4 separate regions of the Homo sapiens genome follow, and all the other regions are linked to region 1. Evidence: promoter capture Hi-C in 16 types of primary human blood cells and fetal thymus (Javierre and others, 2016). All regions are on one chromosome and are shown on one strand. Each heading gives the region's core, a stretch centred on a gene start or on the middle of the fragment in contact. The rest is flanking DNA. Distances are from core to core; before and after follow the strand shown.

Evidence for each region. Contacts are between HindIII fragments. The CHiCAGO score rates a contact against its expected background, and 5 or more counts as called.
Region 2: a contact is called between a fragment that was not itself captured here and the fragment with the promoter of CCNG1 in region 1, in 6 of 17 cell types (non-activated CD4 T cells, naive CD8 T cells, activated CD4 T cells and 3 more). The highest score is 17.4, in non-activated CD4 T cells.
Region 3: a fragment that was not itself captured here is called in contact with the fragment with the promoter of CCNG1 in region 1 in 13 of 17 cell types (non-activated CD4 T cells, naive CD4 T cells, total CD4 T cells and 10 more); the score reaches 26.4 in non-activated CD4 T cells.
Region 4: a fragment that was not itself captured here is called in contact with the fragment with the promoter of CCNG1 in region 1 in 15 of 17 cell types (M0 macrophages, total CD8 T cells, total CD4 T cells and 12 more); the score reaches 28.0 in M0 macrophages.

The regions. Positions count from the first base shown.
Region 1 is chr5:163,436,123-163,438,995 of GRCh38, reverse strand. It overlaps CCNG1 (cyclin G1), which reads right to left and starts at 1,401. Exons shown (of 7, transcript NM_004060.4): 1 at 1,192-1,401. It also overlaps a transcript of LOC105377700 not described here. RefSeq lists enhancers at 837-1,036, 728-1,305, 1,747-1,796 and a silencer at 1,477-1,556. The HindIII fragment of the contact is 4,161 bases long and covers 1-2,666 here.
Region 2 is chr5:160,390,281-160,393,153 of GRCh38, reverse strand. FAM200C (family with sequence similarity 200 member C) reads left to right here. Exons shown (of 2, transcript NM_022090.5): 2 at 1-6. Among named protein-coding and RNA genes, the nearest start is that of FAM200C, 8.3 kb to the left of the region's middle. The HindIII fragment of the contact is 4,404 bases long and covers 1-2,873 here.
Region 3 is chr5:160,410,519-160,413,391 of GRCh38, reverse strand. It overlaps SLU7 (spliceosome associated SLU7), which reads left to right. Exons shown (of 16, transcript NM_006425.5): 6 at 873-941. Among named protein-coding and RNA genes, the nearest start is that of SLU7, 7.1 kb to the left of the region's middle. The HindIII fragment of the contact is 2,367 bases long and covers 227-2,593 here.
Region 4 is chr5:160,430,631-160,433,503 of GRCh38, reverse strand. No RefSeq gene overlaps it. Among named protein-coding and RNA genes, the nearest start is that of PTTG1, 10 kb to the right of the region's middle. RefSeq lists an enhancer at 985-1,074. The HindIII fragment of the contact is 3,173 bases long and covers 1-2,873 here.

The DNA.
Region 1 (2,873 bases), core at 152-2,651:
GGAGTACAGTGGCACGATCTTGGCTCACTGCAACCTCCGACTCCCTGGTTCAAGCGATTCTCCTGCCTCAGCCTCCCGAGGAGCTGGGATTACAGGCATGCGCCACCGCGCCCAGCTAATTTTTATATTTTTAGTAGAGACGGGGTTTCACCATGTTGGCCAGGATGGTCTCGGTCTCCTGGCCTTGTGATCTGCCCGCCTCGGCCTTCCAAAGTGCCGGGATTACAGGCGTGAGCCACCGCGCCCGGTCGGAACCATGCTTTTTAGAAAAATAAAATGCAAATCTTCAAGAAATACTTGTTCAAGTTATTCACTGTCAATAGATAACCACGAATAAACACCGTAAGACAGGATACCGAAAGTGAAAAGCAGATGGTAGTTAAGTATTCTGCCACATATTAACAAAATGAACTGTTCAAGTTACTTAATTGTACTTAGTTCCACATTGATAAAGTAGGGATAAGGTTTATGACCTACCTCACAGATTTGTGAGTTAAAATGAAATCACGTAAAGAGCTTAGCACATACAGTAGACGCTTAAAAAACACTGAACAATAATAATGAGCTTGAGCTTCTTTCTAGATTTATAAAATGAGGGTAACAATATCTGTCGCTGAATGTGAAGACTGAACAAGATGATTCACCACTTAAAGAGTATAGCACAGTGCTTGGCACACAATACTCAATATTACTTAACTTTTATTGTTGTTAGGAAAGGAAACTTAAAAGGTGACATTAGGAGCACGTATTGGGGCGGGGGGGTGCGGTGGGTTGTTGCTAACCTAGTCTGAAAGATGAACCTGGGAATTCCATTGATTTAAGTGTGCATAACACAACCATGTCCCGGGCACAAGCTAAGCCCTGGATACATGGAAGGTCCCTCCCACACCAACTAAAGACAGGAAGGCAGGAGGTCTTCAGAGCTAGTCATGTGAGGAACCTCTAACTGCAGGGGTTCCATTCTTCCTCCCCAGGCTAGTCCCTGGGACTGGGTCGGCAGACACGAAAGGCACCTCAGGAGGCCGGATCCGGCTCCGCCCCTCCAGCCTCGGACTAGCCTGGGCTTGTGCTCACAACAGCGGTAGAGTTTAGTGTGGAAAAGGGCGCGGGCCAGACCTACTCCTCGCCCCGCGCCCCCAACCCAGCTCCCCACCCGCACCTGGCGGTCAACTCCCGCGCAGTCCCACTCACCTTGACAGAGACTGCAGCTCCTCAGCGGTAACCACCCTCCCCGGGCCTGCTCACCTCACCCCACGATATCAGATCCGAGAGGCCTACGAGGAGAGGGGACTCGTAGGCAAGAGGAGAGAGGCCCGGGGAGGGGGACTGTCCTGGGTGGAGGCCTCGGCAGCGCCGCCGAGACAACTCGGCCCTGATCAGGGTCAGCTCGGAGCCGAAGGGGCCGCGCCTGCCCTAACGAGGAATATATTGGAGGGCGGGGCTTTCTCGCGAGAAGGGGGCATTTTCGCCGCTGATTGGTGTAATTCTTTTGATGGATGGCCTCCGCGATCCGTAAACGGCTGGGCCGTGGAGTGAGAAGTCCGGCCAATCGGCTCACACTTCCCGTTATCTGGCCTCAAATTCCCCGGCCCCCTTCCACGCCCCTACCTCTAAGCGTCTCTCATTGGAGAATTTAACAAAGTGTCTTCATTCAGTAGGGGGCCAAACTAAATACTCGGTGCAGCAACCCTCGCCTGGGTCAGGTCAATCGGCTGCCAGCCGGATTGGCCGGCGTATCATTCCAGAATGTACTGTTTGTTCTGTGGGGTTTAGGAGTTCTACAGTGGTTCTGCCCCATCTTTCTAAAAATACAGTGAGTAGTTAAAAAAAAAAAAGTCAACCTTTGATTTTTAATTACAGATAAAGAGGTGGTGGAATTTATATGGTTTGGTGGTTTATCAACTTCCAGAGTGCTCTCTTCGTGAACTTTGGAAGTCAGTTGATTCTTGCCTTAGTTTGCTTTTTATACAATTTATCAAATAATGGAGTTGGACTGTGTAATTTCTTGACCCTCTACCAATTTTCTGAATTTGCTTTTAAAGCAAATTTAAAGAGAAAAGTTGGTACAATTTTTCAGTTGCTTAAAATGAAAGGTATGTGGCAGACTGTTAACAGGAATAATTGTGGTGAGTGTGAATCTCAGTCTACAGACCCGAGTGTAAAGCAGTATTACTCTTTGTATTTACCATAATGAATTTAATCTCTGTGAGCCTCTCCTATGCCAGATTAGTGGGAAAATAATTAGCCTGAACTCTTCTTAGACTCTCCTCACTCTCACTCTCCCAGATCATCACAAGTGAGAAAAGTCCATTTGTAAAAGGGCCTGAAAAAGGGTGCACAAGGAGTCATTTCTAAACTCTTATGAATTACACAGTAGTTGGATGTCTCTGTTCTCATGGCCCCAGTTCGGTCTCTCTTACTTTGAAAAAGTGAAAATCTGAAAGATTTGCCGTCACTCTGCTATTTGCCCTGCCGTGTACTTACCCAAGGCAATGCCACAGAACAAAACTCTGGAAAGGGGGAAAAGGGGTGGGGAGGAAGGGGAAGGAAAAACAGGAGAAAACATCAATACCTCACAATAATACCTTAGCCACATAATCAGGTCAGTTTAAGAAACTGGGGCTCAAATGGGGAAGAGGCCTTTGTTCCTTTTGAAAATAAAAGCTTACCTAGTGAATATAAATTGGCAATTTATAACCTTTAACAAGTGATTTTATTTAAAAATACTTTTTGCTGTAATGTGTGAGTTTATAAATGTAGTTTCTCCTTTTGGCTTTTAGTTCCTATTATTCCTAATTCCTAAAATTAGGAATGTATATGCACAATTTTTAAAAAAAATGGCTAAAAAATCATAAAATCTTTATGGCAGGCTG
Region 2 (2,873 bases), core at 154-2,653, 3.0 Mb after region 1:
TATTAATCACTGTTTGTCATCTTTAAATTACTTCAGAACTCCAAGTTATCAAGGCTGCTGAAAAGGAGATTCCTGAGCCTTACCCTAGAGATTGTGATTAGTAGGCCTGTGATAAGGTCAAGGATCCTCATTCATAACCAGCTTTCCAGACTGTTCTGATGGATTCTTGGATTCTTGGGTCCTCTGGGTTCAATTTTTCCTATACTTATTTTTCCTTTACCCTAATTTTGTCACTTATATTACATCTTATATGTATTTTTCTAAGTTCAAAATGTCAGAGTATAAATCATAAATAAATTGACATGAAATCAATGGAGTAATTCAAGACCATCAAAAAATTCCCCATGGGAATCTAACTTAGCACACTTTTTCTGGATGATAATTTGGCAAAATATTTTTTAATTTAAATAAATTTTCATTTCTATTTTTAAACATTAATATTTTATCAAAGTACTACATGCTCAAGGCTGGGAAAAAATGATATAGAGAGTCCTATAAGGAAAAGCCACAATCCCCTTCCTGCCCAATTACCCATTTCTTCTGTAATTTCTTGTGGTTCCACCCACATCTCTTAAGTAGTATGTTCATACCATGACATATAGCAGTTGAATCAGCTTTAAAAGTTATATATTGACTCCCCTAGATAATATGTAAGGATTGAATTTATAAAATATCCATCTCCTACTACTCTCAATTTTTTATTATTATTACACTAATGTTAGTCTCTTTGTTGGTTATTTATAGCCCTTTGATTAAGAATTTTTCCTCTATAAATTTATCATGTGGAAAGAATCAGGAATGTCCAAAAGTTTTACTTATAAGGTGGCTAATCAGAACACTTTTATAATACTGAAAAATAAAAAATAAACCTGAAGGGAAATGGAACCTGACTACCAAATTTAGATGCCACATTAGTACGCAAATCAAAGTTTATATTTTATCAGTAAGTATAAATACACACCTTTTTTCACTGAAAAATGTAGTAACAGAATATAGGTCCTAATTTTCCTATTACAATCTAACATCAAAGACAGAAAAATTTCCAAAGCTAATATGGAAATCTAGATGTGTAGGCCAGGTGCGGTGGCTCATGCCTGTAATCCCAGCACTTTGGGAGGCCAAGGTGGGCGGATCACTAGGTCAGGAGTTCGAAATCAGCCTGGCTAAAATGGTGAAACCCCACCTCTACTAAAAATACAAAAATTAGCCAGGCATGGTGACATGCGCCTATAATCCCAGCTACTCAGGAGGCTGAGACGGAAGAATTGCTTGAACCCAGGAGACACAGGTTGCAGTGAGCTGAGATTGTGCCACTGCACCCCAGCCTAGGTGACAGAGTGAGACTCCATCTCAAAAAAAAAAAAAAAATCTAGATGTGTGTATATAAAGTTTAATCTGTATGCAATTCTAAAGTTAGGAAGGAGGTAGGAATAGGGACATGGGCATGTATGAAACCTAGGATTTAATAGTATGATAGAAGGACCAGGATTAAATGACCTTTGATAGCCAGTCTTTCATTAGGTCTTAGACTAAATTAGTTATTGCTGCTCTGAAACAAAAACTCAAAGGACATTTTTAAGGAAATGGCTAACTAGGATTTTTATTCATTTTCAAATTCTACAACAATTTTATTTTCTCCTGATCAAATGAAAGAGCTGCAGTGTTTGCTAAAATGAAGGAATTTCAATTTTTTTTAGTTTAAAAATGTCCCACAGTGGTACATATATTGGAATTTTTAGTCATGTGTTGGTTTCTTTTTTCCCAAAGAAGAGATAATTACTTTTCTTATGTTTTATTTTAGAGTCATTGATAAATTTTGAAAAGGAGTAAAATAGAATAAAAACATAATCTTCATGACCAGCAGATGTCACTCTCTGTATAGGTTTGAATGAGAAAGCAACTTTACTCACATTACAGATTTTGCCAAATAGCTGATTTTAAACATCTCTAGAAAAGGTACTAGTGGCTCAAATTTAAAATTCCTTACCTGAGCCTCTGTGGACTGAAAACTGGCAGGCAGAACTCTGTTGGAGCCGGTAACCATGAGACTGCAAGAAATCACTGGGAAACCCAGGTGGGAAAGAAAATATCAATGACTTTTTCTGTAATACAAGCGTGTGCATTTTTGACATCCTCACTGTTTGTCTAAGCCACCAAAAACTGCTGAAAGTTAGTAAATAATAGGTCAGCATTTTCAGGCATGAGCCAATGGGAAGCAAAACCAAATAGACTTACACTTTTTTTTTTTTTTTTTTTTTTTTTGAAGCAGAGTCTTGCTCTGTCGCCCAGGCCGGAGTTCAGTGGCGCCGTCTTGGCTCGCTGCAAGCTCCGCCTCCTGGGTTCATGCCATTCTCCTGCCTCAGCCTCCTGAGTAGCTGGGACTACAGGCACCCGCCACCACGCCCAGCTAATTTTTTTGTATTTTTAGTAGAGAGGGGGTTTCACCATGTTAGCCAGGATGGTCTCGATCTGACCTCGTGATCCACCCGCCTCGACCTCCCAAAGTGCTGGGGTTACAGGCATGTGCCCCCGCACCCGGCTAACTTATACTTTTAAAGAGTGAACTTGATGATACTTGAATTATATCTCAATTTTTTTTTTTTTTTTTTTTTTGAGACGGAGTTTCATTCTGTCACCCAGGCTGGAGTGCAGTGGTGTGATCGTGATCTCGGCTCACTGCAACCTCCACTCCCGGGTTCAAGAGATTCTCCTGTCTCAGCCTCCCAAGTAGCTGGGATTACAGATGCCCACCACTGCGTCCAGCTAATTTTTGTATTTTTAGTAGAGATAGGGTTTCACCATATTGGCCAGGCTGGTCTCAAACTCCTAACCTCAAGTGATCCACCTGCCTTGGCCTCCCAAAGTGCTGGGAT
Region 3 (2,873 bases), core at 161-2,660, 3.0 Mb after region 1:
GCTCTACTTTTCAAATCTTGAAGCACTTTAAAAATGGTAGCATTTTTATAATAGTAGTACTACTGTATAGGCTACCTTTATAATTGTAATATTGAGTAAAGGAAATAGTGTGCTAGCCATACTTGCCAGCAGTTTCTTCTTATTTGATTCTTATATTGGTCCTTTACTCCCTGACTTAGGTAGCAAAAGATATTGGAAGCATGAAGACAGATTAGTGTCCAAAGCTTTTGGTTTTGTGAGGTTAGAAATGTATGGCCCCAAGCTATAGCTTGCCCATGAACCTATTTTATAGTTGCCTCCCATAGCATTTGGGAGTAGTAGAAAGGGAATGGATAATTTGTTTCAGAAAATTTTATTTTATTTTAACCCAACTTCAGTTTTTACTGTTATGATTTGACCTATTCACCCTTATTCCTTTGAAGTCATAGTCACACTGCCTTTTTTTTTTAATTAGAGGTATCATTTTAAAATTATAAGATTTCATATAAAAATCTGGATTTCATCTTTTCTTGAATATTGTAATATATGGTAACCCCACGCCTGCCTGGTAAGAGTCAGTCATCTAGAGTTCTGTGGCAACTGCTTGTTTTTGTCAGGGCTTGCTCCCTGCAATTTACTACTGATGCCATTTGGCTCAGTTTACATTAATGCCTGGTTCAAACACTGTGTAACTCCTGCTCTTTATAGAGTAATAGGTCTAGGGCTACAAGGAATCCCAAAGAGATAGGTTTGTTCAGTGACCTTTTCTGAAATAAATTAATTTAAAGTTATTCATTTTAAATATATAAAAATTTAGGTGGTGACTTGAATGTTGTAAGTAAAATTTAAATGTTTACTTTTTCTTTCTTTCTTTCTTTTTTTTTTTTTTAAAGGCAAAACGAACATTGAAAGCCCAGAAACTCCAAGAGGAATTAGCCTCAGGAAAATTAGTGGAACAGGCTGTAAGTAATGAAAATGATCAATAAAAAGGTTTTATTTCTTTTAAACAAAGAAATGAAAATTGAAACAAGAATTCATTTTATAGCTCTTCAGTTAGGAAGAGAGAAATGCTATTGGGGGAAAAATAAAACTGATACTTTGTATACAGTTCATAGTAATATAAATTGATGCAGTCAGTTTGGGAACAATATTGCCACTATTTATATTTAGACACACACAAACATTTACTTTTTCAAGTTAAATTATTAAAGCTATCCATCCTAAAGAATTTTCTAGAGTTTAGAAAAATCATGATGCATAAAGATAGTACAGCATTTTTCACAATAGTAAAGAAATTGGAATAGCTTAAATGTCCAGGAACAGGGAATTGGTTAAGTGCATCTGCATGGTGTAATGCTGTGTAGTTCTTAAAATGGCATTTCTCAAGACTTCATTAACAACACTGGTTAACACTTGTATTTGAATAATACATGAAAAGATAGTATAATATTATCACACAGAAAAAAAGACCAGAACACTAGTTTTTATTTAATGTAGAATTTATGAATTTTTCTTTCTATTTCTTTAGTATTTTCTGCATTTCCCACAATGAATATGTATTAGTTATATAACTGGGCAAAACATTTTTTATATGAATGAAAGGTCTATTGCAGCCAGTTTTTTTTTCTTTTTTAAAAATCCTTGTCAATAGAGTAAATATATTATGCATATTAGAGTTGTCAAGTTTCTTTTTAACAAATCTAGGCACAAATAAATAGTAAACATTTATAGTTTTTTAGTTTAAATTTCTAAAAGGGACTCTAAACCATGTATAAGTAACAAAGCAAACAGAACTTGAAATAATTACCAAGTAAGCAGTTACCGAGTTACTAAGGTAACCTACCAGGCAAGTTAACATTGTAAGTTACCAGATAGGTGTTTAAAATCCATCTCTGGCCGAGCACAATGGCTCACACCTGTAATCCCAGCACTTTGGGAGGCCGAGGCAGGTGGATCATCTGAGGTCAGGAGTTCGAGACTAGCCTGGCTAACATGGTGAAACCTCATCTTTACTAAAAATACAAAAATTAGCTGGGTGTGGTGGCGAGCACCTGTAGTCCCAGCTACTCGGGAGAATCGCTTGAACCCAGGAGGCAGAGGTTGCAGTGAGCCGAGATCACGTCACTGTGCTCTAGCTTGGATGACAGAGCGAGACTCTATCTCAATCAATCAGTCAATCAGTCAATCAATAACAAAATCCATCTCTGCTCCATGAGACATACATGCTCTTAGAAAAGTGAATTTGCCGGCCGGGCGCGGTGGCTGACGCCTATAATCCGAGCACTTTGGGAGGCCAAGGCGGGTGGATCCCAAGGTCAGGAGATCGAGACCATCCTGGCTAACACGGTGAAACCCCGTCTCTACTAAAAAATACAAAAAATTAGCCAGTCGCGGTGGCGGGCGCCTGTAGTCCCAGCTACTCGGGAGGCTGAGGCAGGAGAATGGGTGAACCCAGGAGGCAGAGCTTGCAGTGAGCCAAGATCATGCCGCTGCACTCCAGCCTGGGCGACAGAGTGAGACTCCGTCTCAAAAAAAAAAAAAAGTGAATTTGCCTCTCTGAGCTGCAGTTTAGTATGTCTGAAATAGAAATGATAACACCTACCCCCAGGAAGCTTATATACATATCACATAGTAAACACTGGGTAATTAGTAGCTATTATTGTTGTGATTATTTTTATTTATTACTAACTTTGGGAAAAGAAAAAGGGCCTGTTTCTTTTGTTCTAATGTATTCTCTGTTGTTTGTTGTAAACGTAATGTAATTTATTTCCCCAGTAAGGATACTTAATGTATGTAAGGGGCTAATGATTTTTGCCCACTTGGATGCTTGGATTATTTTTTTTTTATATACTTTAAGTTTTAGGGTACATGTGCACAACGTGCAGGTTTGTTAC
Region 4 (2,873 bases), core at 231-2,730, 3.0 Mb after region 1:
GCCACCAACAGAACCAAGACTGGTGAGAGAGAGGGCTCTTGAGAGAGCATTCTGGGAGTATTTATTGTCCTTTTCAGCCTTCTCACTGCACTGCGGGGAGGAGAGGATCATCGGCATGTAGAGACTCACTGCAACTTAAAGATTGGCACCTGCTCCTGGTCCAGAGATTTCTCACGGTGGGGACCTGCTGGAGTACCCAGGCCTGCAGGGAAACCTTCACCCCATCCTGGTTCTGCAGCCCTCAAAGGGGATGGAAAAGATCCCAGTGGTTAATCATGGAAGGGCAGAGGCCTTGGACAGCCCCTGGACCAAGGAATAGAAGGGCCCACCTGGGAAAGGTGTGGGAAGAGAGGCAGGCTGCCATTCTCAGGAGGGACAGGGTTTTCAGCCGTGGAGAAGAGGGTGATTCTCTACACAAGGACCTCCCCATGAGCAGAGGCCACCAGCATCGTGCAGAGCACAACAGCCAGAACGAAGCCAGCACACTTCCCATAACCAACAAGTGGCCTGTCACACGAGCAGACTCTTTTCTCCCTCCAGCCGTCCTCCCAGGCTTGGGGCTGGACTAAGCCCCTATGAGGGTCATAACACCGGAAGGGGAGAAGGGACATGTGTGGTGAGCAGAGCATACACATGGGCTTTTGCCAAGCCCTCGCCTGTACTAGGGGAGAGGGAGAAGAGCCTGAAATAGGTGTGAACCTCAAGTTTTAAAATAAGCAAAGTTTAATTTTAACCAAAAGTAACTGGAAAGCTATGAAATCTGTCTGAATGCTGCTCAGCATCACCCACCACCCAGAAAGGAGGAAAGGAGAACAGGTCAACAAAACACAGTTGGTGGCAATAAAAAAAGAAAGAAACTCAGTTTATGTTTCCCCAGCAGAGCTGGAGCTTCTCAGTAAACAGGTTATACCTGGGCTTGGTGGGGCACAGACAGACAGGTGACCAGGAACTGTCTAGGGTAGGAGAAGCTGACCTCCTAGACCTGTGCCTGCCCCCACCACTCTCTCTCTGGAAACCTTGAAGTCAGGCTCCCTGGCCCTGATACCGTGTGATGCTAACAGTGGGTACAGTGCAGTCGCTGGGTCTCTAGAAACCTGGATCCCCAGGGACTGATGACATCTTTACTCATTTCAGCAAGTCCCTGAAGCACCTGCCACATGCCAGGCAGAGAATACACCAGTGCACAGGACACACCTCATCCTGCTCCCAGTAGAGCGGAGGAGAGGACCAGACACAGCCGAGCATGGTAAGTGCAAAGGCTTCTGGTAAGAAAAGCATCTCATTGGAGTACTAGAGATGGACAGGTTTGGCCAGGTGAATCAGGACAGGAAATTACACCCCCAAGGAGCCACCACAAGGCCGTGTGAGCCACACTGAGCAACTCAGACTTCATCCTGGTGGCAGAGGGACATCATTCCAAAGTAAATGAAGTGGGGAATGAGTGCTTGATGAGCATGGGTTTATTTTTGGGGGTGATGAAAGTGTTCTGAAATTAGACAGTGGTGATAGTTGCATATACTCTGAACTAAAAGCCACTGAATTGTACATTTTTAAATGAATTTTCTTATGTGAATGTTACCTCAAAAAAAAAAAAAAGGCCGGGCATGGTGGCTCACGCCTGTAATCCAAGCACTTTGGGAGGCCAAGGCCGGCAGATCACGAGGTCAGGAGATCGAGACCATCCTGGCGAACACGGTGAAACCCTGTCTCTACTAAAAATACAAAAAAAAAAAAAATTAGCTGGGCGTGGTGGTGGGCGCCTGTAGTCCCAGCTACTCGGGAGGCTGAGGCAGGAGAATGGCATGAACCCGGGAGGTGGAGTTTGCAGTGAGCCAAGATTGCACCACTGCACTCCAGCCTGGGCGACAGAGCAAGACTCCGTCTCAAAAAAGAAAAAAAATGAAAGGAATATCTAGAAGGAACTTTCAATTCCAATCAAGATGGAGTAACAGGGACCAGATTTACTCTCCTGCCTGAAACTAAAAAACAAGACAAAATATATGAAATGAGGGCTGCCCAAAGAGTGAACATCAGGCGACAGAGAACAGCGATGCCTGAGGAATGTGAAATAAGTGAGGTGAGGCCGATGACTATCCTTACTGGCTACTTTTGAGTTTCCAGGCCTCAGAGTGGGGAAGAAAGGGAGGCAGGCAGAGCCCAGTGAATTTCCTGAGTTGAAGAGACAGAGCAGAGTCAGGCCAAGGCAGGCCAAGTTTGCAGAGCAGAGCACTGGAGAGGAGAGAGCTGCACAGAGAGAACCCTGGAAATTTGCAGAGGGTCTCCCTGTAGTATTCAGAAGAGCACTGATCCATATAGCTGAAAAGATCAGAGGGAAGAATTCCTGAAGCCCACACAGGGCTGGGAATAGTGTCTGCTCCCACCAGCTAGACAGGAAAACCTCATAATTCAGGGGGCAGCAGAGTCCTAAGCATCTCACACTTCAGTAGTAGGGGGAAATGAGCCCTGGGCTAAATGCTGCTCTGGTGATGCCTAACATTAAAGGCAAGTCTCAAATGAATCAAATTGCTTCTAGGTACCTTACCCATACTCTAGAACAAAGTTTAAGAATATTAATAGAAATGTAAAAATACCCAGCATGAAAAAAGGTAAAATCCATGGCTGGCATGGAAAGTAGAAAAATACAACTTGTAATAAGAAAGAAGAAATGGTAGCAAGATAATGGCATTCCTGACTGTTAGCTCCTACTATAAGAAGGTACAGTATCCTGAGAGGCAGGCTCAGAGGTAGTGTAGAGAAATGCAGAAGGTTTACAGAGTTGTAAAGGTATGAATAAAGTCTGTCTTATTTCAAAAAGTGTCAGAACAAAATAGCAACAACCCCCACAAGATGCAAATTATCTGTATTAATGGAGG